5 separate regions of the Homo sapiens genome follow, and all the other regions are linked to region 4. The links are contacts of gene promoters, found by promoter capture Hi-C in blood cells and fetal thymus (Javierre and others, 2016). All regions are on one chromosome and are shown on one strand. The core of a region is centred on a gene start or on the middle of the fragment in contact, and the rest is flanking DNA. Distances in the headings are between cores, read along the strand shown.

What was found. The method cuts DNA at HindIII sites, captures the fragments that hold promoters and counts their contacts. A CHiCAGO score of 5 or more calls a contact.
Region 1: a contact is called between a fragment that was not itself captured here and the fragment with the promoter of AAMP in region 4, in 9 of 17 cell types (naive CD4 T cells, total CD4 T cells, total CD8 T cells and 6 more). The highest score is 12.5, in naive CD4 T cells.
Region 2: a fragment that was not itself captured here is called in contact with the fragment with the promoter of AAMP in region 4 in 8 of 17 cell types (naive CD8 T cells, total CD8 T cells, non-activated CD4 T cells and 5 more); the score reaches 10.5 in naive CD8 T cells.
Region 3: a fragment that was not itself captured here is called in contact with the fragment with the promoter of AAMP in region 4 in 2 of 17 cell types (total CD8 T cells and total B cells); the score reaches 6.0 in total CD8 T cells.
Region 5: a contact is called between a fragment that was not itself captured here and the fragment with the promoter of AAMP in region 4, in 3 of 17 cell types (total B cells, total CD8 T cells and total CD4 T cells). The highest score is 5.6, in total B cells.

The regions. Positions count from the first base shown.
Region 1 is chr2:219,249,563-219,252,909 of GRCh38, forward strand. STK16 (serine/threonine kinase 16) reads left to right here. Exons shown (of 8, transcript NM_001330213.2): 8 at 1-775. TUBA4A (tubulin alpha 4a) reads right to left here. Exons shown (of 4, transcript NM_006000.3): 2 at 2,446-2,668; 3 at 2,003-2,151; 4 at 148-1,761. The coding sequence ends at 790. Among named protein-coding and RNA genes, the nearest start is that of TUBA4B, 2.0 kb to the right of the region's middle. RefSeq lists enhancers at 421-510, 551-670. The HindIII fragment of the contact is 2,112 bases long and covers 283-2,394 here.
Region 2 is chr2:218,887,359-218,890,674 of GRCh38, forward strand. WNT10A (Wnt family member 10A) reads left to right here. Exons shown (of 4, transcript NM_025216.3): 3 at 2,626-3,005. Among named protein-coding and RNA genes, the nearest start is that of WNT10A, 8.2 kb to the left of the region's middle. The HindIII fragment of the contact is 4,739 bases long and covers 1-3,316 here.
Region 3 is chr2:218,868,721-218,871,963 of GRCh38, forward strand. It overlaps WNT6 (Wnt family member 6), which reads left to right. Exons shown (of 4, transcript NM_006522.4): 2 at 2,307-2,527; 3 at 2,765-3,099. Among named protein-coding and RNA genes, the nearest start is that of WNT10A, 11 kb to the right of the region's middle. RefSeq lists a silencer at 2,787-2,856 and an enhancer at 2,935-3,243. The HindIII fragment of the contact is 4,184 bases long and covers 1-3,243 here.
Region 4 is chr2:218,268,529-218,271,923 of GRCh38, forward strand. It overlaps AAMP (angio associated migratory cell protein), which reads right to left and starts at 1,609. Exons shown (of 11, transcript NM_001087.5): 1 at 1,438-1,609; 2 at 854-1,006. The coding sequence starts at 1,558. It overlaps PNKD (PNKD metallo-beta-lactamase domain containing), which reads left to right and starts at 1,991. Exons shown (of 10, transcript NM_015488.5): 1 at 1,991-2,074; 2 at 2,853-3,021. The coding sequence starts at 2,008. RefSeq lists enhancers at 1-787, 1,356-1,675, 1,826-2,205, 2,236-2,285. The HindIII fragment of the contact is 1,112 bases long and covers 1,498-2,609 here.
Region 5 is chr2:218,903,792-218,907,480 of GRCh38, forward strand. LINC01494 (long intergenic non-protein coding RNA 1494) reads right to left here. Exons shown (of 5, transcript NR_110238.1): 4 at 3,048-3,255. Among named protein-coding and RNA genes, the nearest start is that of WNT10A, 25 kb to the left of the region's middle. The HindIII fragment of the contact is 1,982 bases long and covers 1,385-3,366 here.

The DNA.
Region 1 (3,347 bases), core at 89-2,588, 980 kb after region 4:
CCCCCGAACCATGTCTACCCCACAGTATGACATCAGCATGGGGCCTGGGGCTCCTGTTAGCAAAGTTGAAGCTTTCCCCAGGGCCCTAGCAGGAGTCTCCCACTAGCTAGCACAGAGGCTGAGGCCAGAAAGAAATCACAAACAGAGGGGAGATGACCTGACTTTTAATGGCACAGCCCCAGCTCCAGCAAAGCAGCAAGACAGGAAGCTATGCAAAGCTGCTCAGAGGTGCAGTGGCACAAACAACTCTAGGAGATCGCCTGTGTTCCCTCCCATCCCCCAAGCTTATGACGTGGCTCCATGCCCAGGAACTCTGGGCCAGCCCAGCCCCACTCCCAAACCCTCATAATGCACAGAGGAGCCTGGGCCAAGCCTTGCTTCCAGAGTTGGTAAATGTAGAGGCAGCAGGAAGAACAGGGTAGCAGTCTAACTTTCAAAGACAGAAACCACTGGATTATACTCCTACTTGGAAAGGAGCTGAAGACTCATCCTTCAACAGTTTGTGCCTGGATTTTGGTCCTCATTTCCTCCCTATACTGAGTAACCCTAGGACTTCAATTTAAAGTCCCTGGGGTTATGCTTCCTGGGCCTGGCAAGAACCCCTTTGCAGGTCTCACCTTCAGCGATGGAAGGGATAAGGGTCATGAACAGCAAACAGAGCAGCAGCAGCATGAAGGGGAAGGCAGCAGAAGCTCAAGCACTCAGAGGGAACAAGAAACCGTGCAAGGAAACTGTTTATTTCGAAAGGATTTTGCAATAAACATAGTGAATAGGCTCCAGGCAGCTGCTTTATTCTTCTCCCTCATCCTCGTCCTCATAGGAGTCGATGCCCACCTCCTCATAATCCTTCTCCAGGGCAGCCATATCCTCACGGGCCTCGGAGAACTCACCCTCCTCCATGCCCTCACCCACATACCAGTGCACAAACGCCCTCTTGGCATACATCAGGTCGAACTTGTGGTCCAGGCGGGCCCAGGCCTCGGCGATGGCGGTCGTGTTGCTCAGCATGCACACGGCACGCTGCACCTTGGCCAGGTCACCCCCAGGCACCACAGTGGGAGGCTGGTAGTTGATACCAACCTTGAAGCCTGTGGGGCACCAGTCCACAAACTGAATGCTGCGCTTGGTCTTGATGGCGGCAATGGCAGCGTTGACATCCTTGGGCACCACATCTCCACGGTACAGCAGGCAGCAGGCCATGTACTTGCCGTGCCGGGGATCACACTTTACCATCTGGTTGGCAGGCTCAAAGCAGGCATTGGTGATCTCTGCCACCGACAGCTGCTCGTGGTATGCCTTTTCTGCAGAGATGACTGGTGCATAGGTGGCCAGGGGGAAGTGGATGCGAGGGTAGGGCACCAGGTTGGTCTGGAACTCTGTCAGGTCCACATTGAGGGCCCCGTCAAAGCGCAGAGAAGCTGTGATGGAGGAGACAATTTGGCTAATGAGGCGATTGAGGTTGGTGTAGGTTGGGCGCTCGATGTCTAGGTTGCGGCGGCAGATGTCATAGATTGCTTCGTTGTCCACCATGAAGGCACAGTCTGAGTGCTCCAGGGTGGTGTGGGTGGTCAGGATAGAGTTGTAGGGCTCGACCACGGCTGTAGACACCTGGGGGGCTGGGTAGATGGAGAATTCCAGCTTGGATTTCTTGCCATAGTCAACAGAGAGCCGCTCCATCAGGAGTGAGGTGAAGCCAGAGCCAGTGCCCCCACCAAAGCTGTGGAACACCAGGAAGCCCTGAAGTCCTGTGCACTGGTCAGACTGAAAGGCAAGAACGAGAAAGAACAGTTTAGGTAGGGGAGGGGCCTGAGGGACTCTATCACCTGGCTCCATAAAGCGTAAGATACATCAGCAGTCAGGGCAAATACTGAGGATGCCATAGCAGCACCACACTCGAGACCATGTATAGTTAGAGATGACCTCCTGAAAGGATCTGAAAAAAAATATTCCTGACCATTAGCACAGTCTCAAAAGTTCCCTCCCTCCCAAGACACACTCTCACCAGCTTGCGGATCCGATCCAGCACTGGGTCAATGATCTCCTTGCCAATGGTATAGTGACCACGGGCATAGTTGTTGGCAGCATCCTCTTTCCCAGTGATGAGCTGCTCTGGGTGGAAGAGCTGTCGGTATGGGCCATTTCGGATCTCATCTGGAAGGGCAAAAACCACAAAGCTATGCTCAGCAGGGACCTTCCTCCCCCAGGGTGGTAGCTGTGGCCAGATGCATGGAAGGACTCATCCTCCTGCCAGCCTGAGATACCAGAGTGTGAGAGAAACCCAGACCAGCTGCCCAGGCCAGTCTCAGATCAGCTTGCCTTCTGCAGCTTCAAGTACGGCTAGGAATTTTCAGGGCTAGGAATGCCTGGTCTAAATACCCTCTCTCTCCAGGGAGAAGCTTTGAGTCATGCTCCACCCCCTTCAATTTTGTCCCCACTTCCTCTCACCAATGACCGTAGGCTCCAGATCCACAAAAACTGCCCGGGGTACGTGTTTTCCAGCACCAGTTTCACAGAAGAAGGTGGTGAAGGAGTCGTCCCCTCCACCAATGGTCTTGTCACTGGGCATCTGCCCATCAGGCTGAATCCCATGTTCCAAGCAATAGAGCTCCCAGCAGGCATTGCCCATCTGGACACCTGCCTGCCCCACGTGGACTGAGATGCATTCACGCTGAGGGATAGAGAGAGGGGACACAGCATGAGCCCCACATCCACAAGTCCTCACCTTGCGAGTCTCTCTTCCACCCTATCATCTACCAGCTAGGATGACTCAGTTGGCAAGAGTGGAGGGTTGGGGCTGGGCAGAGGTGAGAAGAGAGTAGCAGCCTGCCCGGGCTCCCAGGTACAGGACTCCCCACCTGGAGGCACCCAGCAATGCAGGCCAACCTCTTAGCCCACTTCTCAGTGGGGAATCTGTCAAGTGAGCACTGTGGCTCCACATGACAAAAGGTTTCCTAGAGGTATGGGTTTACAGCTAGAGGCCCCCCCCCCACTTGATTAATTATTTGCTTTGAGTATGAACAGCTAGAATTCATAGAACCCTTTCCCTCTTTCTTTCCTGTAAGCTGCAGAGGTGTCTCAGCCATCCAATCTGGCATCAACTGACCACACGCCATCAGGATGCCCTCCTCCCTCACCTTTAAATCCCATCTGGCTCTGGGGATCAATCCCATCTGGCTCCTCTCCCCACCTCCACCCCCGCACCCTGGGTGTCTTCACCACTTTCATCTCCCGTGTCAGCCCGCACGGAAATAGCGGCGGTAATGCTTGTAAGCTCAGACAGCAGGGGCCAGCAATAAGGTTTGAGGGTACTGGGGCGCTCACTGCCTTAGGCTCCGTCCCTGTCAGCC
Region 2 (3,316 bases), core at 182-2,681, 620 kb after region 4:
TCCCCGGCAATAAGAGAAATGCTCAAAGTTCCACAGATAAAAGGCAAGGGATAAATGCAGGATGTGCTTCCCAGGAGCTTGGTTCCATCCTCCTTCCCCTTAGGTTCCACTTCCCCAGGGCAGTTTCTACTCCTCTGCAGCTCCTGCTAATTCCCAGCATCCCCATAGAAGGTTCCAGCCCCATCCCCAGCCCCTCTTCTCTGCTCATAGCTGAGCTCCTTATGCAAAAATGTACTGAGATGCCATGAGATGGAAAGAGAGAGGGACAGTCTGCTTCATAGGCATCTGGTGGCCCAAGTGACCTATTCTAAAGTGGGTCATGAGCTGCTGGGCTTTGTCCCTGATCAGGGTGAAACAAAAAACAATGGCCCAAAAAATGCAGCAGGAGTGAGTGAGGTCAGATAGCAGAAAGAACTTCTCAATAATAGCTAATGTTTGAGTAATACTTCCTCGATTAGTAAGGCACTATTCTAAGCACTTTAAATTTACCAGTTCATTTAATTCTTGGAACAACAATGAGGCAGATAATAGCTCTATTTTATAGGTAAGGAAACTGAGGCACAGGGAGGTTAAGTCACTTGGCCAAGGTCACATAGCTATTAGCAGCTAGTAAGTGGAAGAGCCAAGATTTGAAGTAAACTGGTTTCAGGAATTAGTTCTTAACTACTAAACAGCTTGTTCTGTTTCTTTCTGTTATTTTTTGTTTGTTGGTTGTTTTTGGTTTTGGTTTTTTTGTTTGTTTTGGCAGGAAGGGGAGGACAGGGCTCTGTGATGCAGTGGGTGAGGATTAAGGTGGGATTGGCCCAGGCCTCTGGCTTCTCTTGCTGCCTGCCCCCTCTCTGGTGTGCGGAGGCTGGTTGGAGACTTGTACCAGAACTTGTTCCTAGCTGGTCCATTCTCAGATGCAGAATAAGCAAAAGATAGCTTGCATGTCTGAGAATGGGACCCTCCTTTGCAAGTAGGCCTCCCCCTGCCACAGGTCCAGGTGTTCCCAGAGAATGGCTCAGGTTGGAGCACCAAGAAGGAAGGCAGTGTGGACAAGCCAGTGGCCAGGCCGGCCTAGCCGCGGCCCCCAAGAGTGGCTTGGTCAGGGAAAATCTGTGCCTCCTGAACATCTGGTGGAAGGTATCTGCCTCAGCTTGCCCTTCCTTCTCCATGTTCAACACTACTACATGCCAGACCCCATGCAGGACCCTGGGCTTCCCTCTAGCGTACCTCCAACAGCCTCTGCAGCTGACCTGGGTGGGTCACAGGCAAGGTGGCTGGGTAGCGCCCATTTCTGAGTGGCTTTCAGGGATGTCCTGTGGACAAGCAAGGGGAAGCTCTGGTGACCCATTTCTTTGCCTCTGGAGTCTGGTCATTAGGGAGGATCCTATGCTGTGCCTAAGATGGGCACGCACCCAGCAGGCTATCTTGGGGCAGGGAGCATTAGGAGCTGACCGTCTCCTCTTACTTACTCTGCTGCCCACTGACATCTCCTAAGGCCTGGAATTTCATCATTGACAATTTATTCTCTTTTTTTCCAAAATTGTGTACATTTTATTTTATGAAATATCATTTTATTTATTTATTTATTTATTTCAATAGGTTTCTGGGGAACAGATGGTGTTTGGTTACATGAATAAGTTCTTTCGTGGTGATTTCTGAGATTTTGGTGCACCCATCACCCAAGCAGTGTACACTGCACCCAATGTGTAGTCTTTGATCTGTCACCTCACACCCAACCTTTCCCCAAGTCCCCAAAGTCCATTGTGTCATTCTTATGCCTTTGCATCCTCATGGCTTAGCTTCCACTTATAAGTGAGAACATACGATGTTTGGTTTTCCATTCCTGAGTTACTTCACTTAGAATAATAGTCTCAAATTCCATCCAGGTTGCTGTGAATGCCATTATTTTGTTCCTTTTTATGGCTGAGGAGTATTCCATGGCATATTTATACTGCAATTTCTTTATCCACTTGTTGGTTGATGGGCATTTGGGCTGGTACCATATTTTTGCAATTACAAATTGTACTGCTGTAAACATGCGTGTGCAAGTATCTTTTTCGTATAATGACTTCTTTTCCTCTGGGTAGATACCCAGTAGTGGGATTACTGGATCAAATGGTAGTTCTACTTTTAGTTCTTTGAGGAATCTCCACACTGTTTTCCATAGTGGTTGTACTAGTTTACATTCCCACCAGCAACATCACTGGCAATGAATTCTTTAGCTTAAATGTTGCCCTCATTCTGTGGGCTTATTTTAAAATTGCAGATACCACTGTGAGAGGTAATAGATTAAGTCCCTGATTGTAAAAAGAATGTGTTTACCTGATACTTTCTGCTCTACAGTAGAGATGTAGACACACAAATTCTGAGTTTGCTAAAGGTGATGTTAAAGAACAGGAGAAGGGCGTACAAAAAGCAGAGGGCTATTGGGAAGCCTCCCTCCCACCCCACCAGGTTCTGTTTGCAGAAGAACTGGCTTCTGGCGTGATTTCTGCCCTTCTTTGACTCTGTTTCCTTGTGCCAGACTCTCCTGCATACTGGGCTTCAGTTTCTCCTTGGAATGATGAGAAAGGTGGGCTGGAGAATGGGGTGTCAAGGCCCCTCCAGAGTCCATGTGTTCTGGGTCTTTAACCACAGGTTTCCGAGAGAGCGCTTTTGCCTACGCCATCGCAGCAGCTGGCGTGGTGCACGCCGTGTCCAATGCGTGTGCCCTGGGCAAACTGAAGGCCTGTGGCTGTGATGCGTCCCGGCGAGGGGACGAGGAGGCCTTCCGTAGGAAGCTGCACCGCTTACAACTGGATGCACTGCAGCGTGGTAAGGGCCTGAGCCATGGGGTCCCGGAACACCCAGCCCTGCCCACAGCCAGCCCAGGCCTGCAGGACTCCTGGGAGTGGGGCGGCTGCAGCCCCGACATGGGCTTCGGGGAGCGCTTTTCTAAGGACTTTCTGGACTCCCGGGAGCCTCACAGAGACATCCACGCGAGAATGAGGCTTCACAACAACCGAGTTGGGAGGCAGGTGAGAGCCCCACCCCTGGGTCTGCTTCAAATCTCTTTGCCTAGGGCCTACCCCTTGCCCTGGCCTACCTCTCTTCTGAGGACCACGTTGCTCCCACATGTCACACCTTGGCAATCTTCTCGTTGACCCTGTCTAATTCAACAAACATGCACTGAGTATGCACTGTGCACCAGGCACTGGACTAGGCCTGGGGATACAGGGCAGAAACAAGCCCTGTTGCCCTGGATCAGCATACCACCTGCTGAGCAACCTGCTTCTCCTACTTCCTCGGGTGATCACCCAGGAGAAAGGACAGGGGTGCAGTCAGGACT
Region 3 (3,243 bases), core at 100-2,599, 600 kb after region 4:
GATGGTGTTCATTGTATAATATACTACAGGTATTACATGTGACACAGAATTCATACTATGCAATTTTTTGTAATGAAAATTGGGGTTGGGGGAGGATATAAACTAAGTACCTAAGTCTTCCAGGAGATGCAAAGGAAAATAAGGCAGTCTTAATGCTCAAGAAGCTCATAGTCTTATCTCCTGACCCTGCACAGCCATGTTGGAAGCTGCCTCCAATCCTTCTTATAATGAGGTGGGATATATGGGCAGAGGAGGGACAGATAGATTGATGGATCAATAGAGACCGATCAGCTCTCAAAAGTCACTGGGTCATTGGGGTGCCCTGACCCACCCTCCATTGCTTTACTTATCTAGGCTGGGAAAGGGTGGGGGCCAGTGCTGGGCTGGTCTTAAGCACGCAGGAAGGAAGATGTGGACTGTGGCCTCTCCATTGAGAGACATCTGATTCCTGAGCTACTTGGGTACGGATGACGGCAGCAACTTGATTTTGTGTGTGTGCGTGCGCATGCGTGCACGCATGAGAATGCACGTGCACACACACGTGTTTGTGTTGTAGACCATAAAGGACTGAGCTTACTACACATCTTCCTGTACCACCTCTTCAAGCATCTCCATCCTTAGTGTTGAGAGTTCTACCTTAAGACCTAAATTCCTCTTGCTTCTATTTAAGACCATCACATTTCATTGTTGTGGAGCCAGAACATTCCTGGGCAGCCTGTACTTGTGGAGCAAATGGGGACAGTGGGGCGGATATGCACTAAAGCAAAACTGAAAAGTAGGCCACCTTGACCTCTGGCACCACCTACCACCATTCTCTATGTTTTCTCTCTCCTGGGACCCCTACCCCCACCCTGTCCTCTGCTGAAGAGCTTTTGGGTGGTCTCTAATTACCCTCTGCTCCCAGATGCTCTACTCATTCATTTGAGATGGGAATCCCAGCTAAGTGTTCAAATAGGAGCATTCTGATGAGAGCAGTTCCCCCAGGTATGAATCCCTAAGGAATTAACCTTCAGGGGTCTGGTATACCAAAACCAAATGTCAGCTCTCTCCTTGGGCAGAACGAAGGCCAGGAGTTGAGGGATTTCTGGAAGTGCGTGAGACTTCCCGTGAAGTCTTCCCCTACCAAGCCAAATATTGCCTGCACCCAGCAGTGATGTCACCCTAATGCGCAGGGCTTGGTTCACTGCCATTCTGCTCAGAGAAGGCAACAGATCCTTGGCCATGTGTGGTGGCTCATGCCTGTAATCCCAGCACTTTGGGAAGCCGAGGCAGGCAGATCACCTGAAGTCAGGAGTTTGAGACCAGCTTGGCCAACATGGTGAAACTTGTCTCTACTAAAAGTACAAAAAAATTAGCCAGGCCTGGTGGTGCACACCTGTAGTCCTAGCTATTTGGGAGGCTGAGGCATGAGAATCGCTTGAACCTGGGCAGTGGAGGTTGCAGTGAGCTGGGAGCCCGCCACTGCACTCCAGCCTGGGTGACAGAGCAAGACTCCATCTCAATTAAAAAAAAAAAAAAAAAGAACGAAAACCACAGATCCTGGAGCAAGAGAAGGGTCAGTGTCACCTACTTTCCAACAATGCTTCAGAGACCTGGCCCCCAGCTCCTTCTTCCTGCTCTCCAGTTCAGGGACATAGAAGATATCAGGGTAGGAGGGCCCACCTTAGAGATGAAAGCCCAACACACCCATTTTATAGAAGGAGAAACCTGGGCTATGGAGAGGGTGTGACTTTTCTCAGCTAGGCTCCATTCCCTAGCCGTTCCAACATCTCGTGGCATTCTCTCTCCCTGGGATTGTTCTTGCCTTTCATCCGGGCTGTTCAGCTGACACATATCCAGCTTGTGGTCCACTAGGACCATATCATTCCTTGATACTGCTTACTTTTCTTTGGTGTCTCTTGACGACACATGAATTTCCTTGACGGCCTTCTTGATCTTTCTTCTGTTATTTCTTTTCCTTGTCACCCTTTTGGGCTAGAAGTTTGAGTTTTAACTTTGACTTACCTGATGCCAGCTGCCTTCACCTTGAGTAAAATTTCTATAAGAATTTATTTACAAAGATGTGTGCAGGAAGATAAGATTGAATCTTTGCTCTGTAGCAATTATCAGACTAGACTCTAGTTAGAGGGGACACAGACATGGACTAGCAGGAGAGCCAGACAGGACAATCTCAAGCTCAGTTTGGAGGTAGGGTGGGAGGGCATGTCACAGCTCCCGCTGCGGGCTGAGTGGGGCTGGTCCTCCTCCCTTCCACCCCAAGCCCTTTTTTGGGTTACACCCCTGACCTGCTATTCTCTGCTTTCCAGGGCTGTGGGCAGCCCCTTGGTTATGGACCCTACCAGCATCTGCAGGAAGGCACGGCGGCTGGCCGGGCGGCAGGCCGAGTTGTGCCAGGCTGAGCCGGAAGTGGTGGCAGAGCTAGCTCGGGGCGCCCGGCTCGGGGTGCGAGAGTGCCAGTTCCAGTTCCGCTTCCGCCGCTGGAATTGCTCCAGCCACAGCAAGGCCTTTGGACGCATCCTGCAACAGGGTCAGTGTGGGGAGGGGGCGGAAGTGGGGCTGCTTTCTCCCTGCTGTGGGACCCGAGGAGAGGAGAACTGGTTCGCTGAAGTTGCCTGAGCCCCACTTCCCCCTCACATGTGTCTGGGCACCCTGCAAGGACCCTGCCTCCCAGGCCCCTGGGGCAGCCCTCCCGCCGCAGGTTTCAGGTCCCAGGCCCCAGCTGACCGCCCCAGCCCGCGCTGATTGCACCTGTCTGCATTCACAGACATTCGGGAGACGGCCTTCGTGTTCGCCATCACTGCGGCCGGCGCCAGCCACGCCGTCACGCAGGCCTGTTCTATGGGCGAGCTGCTGCAGTGCGGCTGCCAGGCGCCCCGCGGGCGGGCCCCTCCCCGGCCCTCCGGCCTGCCCGGCACCCCCGGACCCCCTGGCCCCGCGGGCTCCCCGGAAGGCAGCGCCGCCTGGGAGTGGGGAGGCTGCGGCGACGACGTGGACTTCGGGGACGAGAAGTCGAGGCTCTTTATGGACGCGCGGCACAAGCGGGGACGCGGAGACATCCGCGCGTTGGTGCAACTGCACAACAACGAGGCGGGCAGGCTGGTGCGTACGGGCAGGATGGAGTGAGTGTGTGCGGAAATGTGAGTGTGCGCGCAGGAGTGTGCTTGAGGAAGTGTTGGCAGGAGTGAGGGTGTGTAGGTGGAGGGGGGCGTTAATGTGTGGGGGAGTGCGCACGGGCGGAAAGAT
Region 4 (3,395 bases), core at 359-2,858:
ATGAGGTTTCACCATGTCGGCCAGGCTGGTCTTGAACTCCCGACCTCAGGTGATCCACCCGCCTTGGCCTTCCAAAGTGCTGTGATTACAGGCATGAGCCACCGCACCTGGCCAATTATCTCTAATTTTATACTCACTACTTTTATTAACTTTTATCAAAGATAACTTTTTTTTTTTTTTTTTTTTTGGAGACAGACTCTCATTCTGTTGCCCAGGCTGGAGTGCAATGGCGCAGTCTTGGTCCACTGCAACCTCCGCCTCCCGGGTTCAAGCAATTCTCCTGCCTCAACCTCCCGAGGAGCTGGGACTACAGGCGCCCGCTACCACGCCCAGCTAATTTTTGTATTTTTAGTAGAGACGGGGTTTCACCATATTGGCCAGGCTGGTCTGGAACTCCCGACCTTGTGATCCGCCTGCCTGGGCCTCCTAAAGTGCTGGGATTACAGGCGTGAGCCACCATGCCCAGCCAAATTTTTGTATTTTTAGTAGAGACTGGGTTTTGCCATGTTGGCCAGGCTGGTCTCGAACTCCTGACCTCAAGTGATCCACCTGCCTCAGCCTCCTAAAGTGCTGGGATTTCAGGAGTGAGCCACCACGCCCGGCCAAAGATAACTTTTTAAAAGAAAACTAAGAGGTTAATCAAGGTTAACTGGCAAAGTAGAGGGTGTCTCGACTGATGCCAGAAGCCAAGCAATCATCCATTCTGCCACACTTTCCCACCTGTGGGCTCCTCCAGCGCAAGGCCAGCATCTTGCCCATCTCTGTGTCCCCCATAACGTTCTGTCCATGGCTGATGTTTAATGCTTACACGCCCACCTAAACTGATTTGAGGTGGATCGCCTCAAAGACCTACCTGAGTGCAATGCAAAGGTGACCTCGCTATCGTCGGGGCCCTCCATGCTGCCGACCACCCCTTCCTGGGGTTCTAGAACCCAGCCCTCTTCGTTGCCCTCTTCCTCCTCTTCTTCCTCAAAGTCCACATCTTCCATCTCCTGGGCCAGGTCATCTGCTTTGGGGAGAGGGTTAGAAGATGGGGCTCGGGAGGCGGTAAGAGGTACGGAGAGAAGCATGAGGAGGCCTGAGGCTGGGGCGGGTCATGTGGCGAGAAGGGAAGGTGGAGTCAGACACACCGGGGTCCGCGGGGGCGCGCGGGACACAGGACGGGAGGCCACGGCTGGCCAGAGACCGTGCGGTAAGGGAGGGCCAAGGGGATGATGGGAAGGGGGTGTGTGAGGGGAAGGGCCAGAGGAGGCGTCAGGGAACCCCCACCCCAGCCAGGCCTGAGAACTAAGTGTGAGGGTGGGAGTGGGGGAGGAGGGGAAGAGGGATATCGGTAGGAATGACCAGTCGGGTGTGGAGGGGAGCGGGGAAAAGCAGGAGTCAGAGGCCAGGGGTGAGCGTCTCCTGTCCCATGGCCTGAGGAGCGGCAGTTCTCACCTGGGTCCGGCGGACCGGGATCAAGTTCTACCACCTCGATAATCTCTTCATCACCATGGAAGCTTAGGGTCTCCAGTGGGGGGGTGTCAGCAGCAGCCCCGCTTTCCGATTCGGACTCCATGCGGCGCAAGCGGCGGATCCACTTCTCTGGGCCCAAACGCCTCCCAGAGTCAGCTCTGCGCGACGACGCGGAACTCGAGCCCCTCCTCCCGGCAGGAAGTAGGCGTAGGCGACTCCCCAGCAGGAAGAGCGACGGCCGTTCGGCCAATAGCTACGAAGGTTGGCTGGCCGCCTCACCAATCACAGAGCGGCATTGGAAGATGGGGCCGGGGCGTGGCGGAGAGAACCCAAACTCCGCCCCACCTGACTCCGCCCCCAACTGGAGGGAAACAAGCGAGCGCGCGCGCCTCCGGGGTCTCCTGGGAAGAGTAGTTCTCCTGGGTCCGCTCTGCGGGCTTCTGGGAGATGTAGTTTCTGGTCTGTAGGCAGGACGGAAGGAGCGGGGGAGGCCCCTTACGCAAACTACAATTCCCGGCGGGGAGCGCGGTGAAGCGGGGGTGGGATCTGAACATGGCGGCGGTGGTAGCTGCTACGGCGCTGAAGGGCCGGGGGGCGAGAAATGCCCGCGTCCTCCGGGGTAAGGAGAGGGACCCCGGGGAGGGCAGGACTGCAGAAGATCCCTTTTCTTTCACGTCCAGCCCGACGATAGCAGGAGGTCAGGGCTCTTGGTTCCTCCCCACACTTTTCTGCAAGATCTTAGAGTCTGGGGGTGCAGAGATGCTCTTTAGAGGTCACCCAGTGCATCCCCCCGCCTTCGGGTTGCTCGACACCTCCGGGGTCTTGCTGCAAGAGGGAGCTCCTAGGAAGCCTGTTGGACTCCCGCGCTCCAGGTGTTTCACACTCACCGCAGTGCAGAGGAAAGAGCCCCGGGCTTCTGGAGGTTTGAGTTCCAGCCCCGGATAATTAGCAGTTTGACCTTGGGCAAAGCAGTTTTTCTCTCAGGGCTTCAGTTTCCTCTTCCGTACAGTGCAAGGGATGGAGTAGACTATCTTTAAGGTCCCTTCCAGTGCTAACATTTGCAGTTTCAAAACCTTTTCCCGGATTTCCTTCATACGTCTTATGTGAGTCCCACTGCAGTCCTTCCCATGCTGTCGTCTGAGGAAGAACAGCGAAGCTTTTCGTCCTGGCACCAGGGTGATGAGCCCGCAGTGACGTGGAAGTGGCTTCCAAAGGTGCCACCTCGGTGGCGATTTTCCCATTTCCCTTTGGATTCTCCTTGGCACTTCTTACTTCAGACTGCAGTCACTCCCCTTCCCCAGATCTCAGCCGCTCCTCCCAAGCCCTTACTGCCCCCCACCTCCCCGCTTGCTTTCTTCTCATCTCTTCTTACTGACCTTCCTTACCTCCATCCACAGGGATTCTCGCAGGAGCCACAGCTAACAAGGCTTCTCATAACAGGACCCGGGCCCTGCAAAGCCACAGCTCCCCAGAGGGCAAGGAGGAACCTGAACCCCTATCCCCGGAGCTGGAATACATTCCCAGAAAGAGGGGCAAGAACCCCATGAAAGCTGTGGGACTGGCCTGGTGAGTTTTAACCACCCCTTTGCCCACCAACGGGGCGTGGCTTGTAGGGGAGGGCAGGACTTAGAAACTTCTCCAAGTTTCAGGTGGCGAGCTGAATCCAAAGTTGTGGGAACAGAATTGTTGGGTTCGATTGGAATCTCAGAGGGGTGGGGCAGTGGAGGTGGGAAAGTATGTGGAATTGAGAAGACAGTGGGTTTACTGTGGAGTAAGCTGAGTTGATCTGATTCAGACTTGGGTCCCTGGCCTCATCCTCCCTTTTGGGAGCTTGGAGTGAGACCCAAGTTTAAGTAAGTAGTTCGTTGAGATCATGTGAGCTTGTACTAGTTGTATAGTAGTACTCAGAAGGCGTTATGAACATTGTGATTGGGCTCTGA
Region 5 (3,689 bases), core at 1,126-3,625, 640 kb after region 4:
TTTTAGTAGAGATGGGGTTTCACTATGTTGGCCAGGCTGGTCTTGAACTTCTGACCCCAAGTGATCCACCTACCTCAGCCTCCCAAAGTGCTGGGATTACAGGCGTGAGCCACCATGCCCGGCTCAAGCTTTATTAATGCAGATTCATTATCTTATGTATGTATTTGCTAAGGGCTGAGACTTTGTTTTGTTTACTGTTCTTTTCTCAATGCCTAGCACAGTGCTTGGCATAGACCAGGCATTTAATATTTGTTGAATAAGTGAATGAATGACTTTCCCCTCCAAACCAGTTCTCCTTAACTTGCTTGTTTCTCTTTGTCACATCATCATTTTCTTAGTCACTGAACCTCAAAACTGGTGTAAACTTGGACTCTCACCTTCTCTTCTCCTTTCTATATTCAATCAGTGGCCAAGATCTGCTTATTCTTCCACTTCATTCACATGGTCAATATCCTAGTTCACCACACACCTCAAACATCACAACGACCTTCCAACTAGCCTCTGTCATTCCTCTTTCTTCCTCTTCAATCCATCCCTATCCTATTGTTCTGTTTTTCTCTCCCACGAAGTGCTCTGATCATGTCATTTCCTCTGACTAAAGCTCTCAATGGATCTTTGTACCAATTTGGGTTCTTAATTGCAAACAACAGAAACAGACTCTGGTTCACTTAGTAGAAGAGGAATTTACTGGGATGACATCAGGGAACTCAAAGAATTGACAGGAAGCCTCAAGAATCAGGCTCAGGAAGCAAGCAGGAGCCAAGAGAAGCTAGGCAGCTAGAACTTTAGCTAAATCCTGTCCCAAGTGCAGCCTGATTAAGGGGCTTGGGGGCTGCTTCCCACATGGCTACCACCACCCTGAGCACTTGCTGCTGCCACCTCTGGGATGAATTATAAACAGTCCTCTTCCTCCTTGGGTCACTTGTTGAAGATTTAGAGTCCTGACTGGGAGCATTGATTTGGCTGTGATCTTCCTGCTAGGGGCCAGGTGAGCAAGTATCTGACTTCTCACTAAGACTCACATTAGGGAGGCTCCACCAACATATGAAGGGGGCTCAGATGCTGGGCAGCTAAAGACTCCAGTGTGTATCCATATGCAGGTTCCTGAGCATTGAAGCCCTCCACCATATGCCACAAACGATCATCTCCAGTTTTTTCTCACTTCCACACCATGTTCCACTGAAGCATGACTGTGTGCAGTTCCCTGAGCAGTCCTTTCCTGCCTCAGCCCCTGTAATAGCTGGGCCCCAAAGGTGGTCCGCCTTGAATCATGCTTCACACCTGTGTATTGTCCCCTCCCCTTGAAAGGGCCAGTCCATGCTTCCTTTTCACTGAGTGTGCTGTGGAAGCGAAGCTGCATGACTGCTGAAGAGAGGGAATAGGAAGCTTTGCAGTTTTTGCCTCAGTCGCTCGGAATGTTCACTCTGGGGCAAGCCAATCACCGTGTATGAGGTCTGTCTACCCAGAGACTACCATGCTATGAGGAACCCGAAACAAGCCACATGGGAAGGCTGTATAGAGAGAGTAATGCCTGGGCAGGCCCCTTCAGTTCCAGCCAATTCAGATGAGGTGCCAGACATGTGACTTTAAAAAGTCATCTTGGGGCTGGGCTCAGTGGTTCACACCTGTAATCTCAGCACTTTGGGAGGCCGAGGCAGGCGGATAACTTGAGGCCAGGAGTTCAAGACCATCCTGGCCAACATGGCGAAACCCCATCTCTACTAAAAATACAAAAAATTAGCCAGACATAGTGGCACATGCCTGTAGTCCCAGCTTCTCGGGAGGCTGAGGCATGAGAATCACTTGAACCTGGGAGGTGGAGGTTGCAGTGAGTGAGATTGCGCCACTACAGTCCAGCCTGGGTGACGAAGTGAGGCTGTGTCTTCAAAAATAAATAAATAAATAAATAAATTTTTAAAAAGTCATCTTGGATATCCAGCCGAGTTGAGCCTTCAGATGACTCCAGCCTTAGCCACCATCTAACTGAACTGCTTGAGAGACCCCACGTGAGAACTGCCCAGCTGACTGTAGTCAACCCACAGGACTGTGGGATGTAAATGGTTATTTTTAAGCCACTGAATTTTGGAGCGGTTTGTTACTCAGTAATAGAAAATGGAAACAGCCCCTCTGTGGTCCATGTTTCCCTCTCTCTGGAATGTACCCCAACTGTCCTGCCTTAGCTCCATGTCCACTCATATCTGCTCTTGTCAAAATCCTTCCAGTGAGCATGGCACAGTGCAGAGGAAAGAGCCAGGCTTTGGGGTCAGCCTGTGCGGCGGGAGGGATTGAATCCTAGTTTAGTCTCTCACTATCCCTGTGACCTAAGGCAAAGTCATTAAGTTCTCTGGACCTCAGTTTCTGTATCTGCTATATTGAAATAAAAACACTCATCTGCTGAAGTTGTTTTGAGGACTAGATGTAATATATGTAAAGTACCTAGACGTCTCACCCATTTTAGTCTCACTGAATGGTGGCCTTTAGCAGACACTTAGCCTTCTAGCCTGGCATCAAATGGCACTTCTGAGGTCTAATTCTCATCACTTATAAATTATATGGTTTTGGAAAATTCCTTAAATTTCTCTGAGCCTTACTCTCCTCATATGTAACATACCTAGACCCTTAAGCCATGTCCCTTAACCGGCATGGCATCAGAAATCCTTGGAAGAGGAAGTAAACCATGGCCACAGTTGGGGTTCCCCAGTGTCTGGTGGGCTGGGGGTCTGTAGTGGATGGCAGACTGCAGGGGAGGAACAACAGAGGCCGGAGAGCTCATCACCCTGAGTGAGAAAAAGGTTTCACTGGACAGGGAAGGGGTCCGCCGAACAGGGCAGAGGGAGGAGTGCTATTTGGAATGTTGTGAGGCTGGGCATGACCACTGGGGCTTGGTGCACCTCTACCCTCACTCCCTCAGGCCTCAGGGCCTTCCTGGTGGAAAGGGAAACATTTGGGGTATAGGGCAAGAACGGGCTCGCTAGGGCACAGACATCTCTGCTGTGGGAACTCCTTATGAAAGAGCTGAGAATGAGAAACAGAACATGCTTCCCCACCTCAAGGAGAGAGAGATGTCAGAGAACCATGGACCAGGGGGCAGGCAGAGAGGCAGCAAGTGACGGTGAGATGAGTGGCATTGGCAGCAGCCCCGACCATGTGGGCAGCAACCCCACCCGGCTTCTTCTCAGACTCTCACTGAAGGTGAGGGCACGTGGAGATGTGGGAAGTTCCAGATGAGAGCACACTGTATGATCCCAGTGGCAGCTGCAAAAACAGGCAAAGTTAACTTATGCAGTTGGAAGGCAGGATAGTGGCCTGTAATCCCAACCCAGGAGGTCGAAGCTACAGTGAGCTATGATCATGCCACTGCACTTAAGCTTGGGTGACAAAGTGAGACCCCATCTCCAAAAAATAAAATAAATAAAATAAAATAAAATAAATAAAATGAAATAAAAAGGCATGATAGTGGTTATCCCTGTAGGAGATGCAGTGAATAGAGGGAAACAGGAGAAGGGTTTGGGGAGCTGGTAATGATTTGTTTCTTCCTCAGGGACCTGATTACACTACTTTGTTCATTGTGTTAAAAGTTAAGTGCACATAGGATTTGTGTATTTTTCTGTACGTTACTTCAATAACAAGTTAAGTCTGGGTGTGGTGGCTGTAATCCCAGCACTTTGGGAGGCCAAGGCGGGTGGATC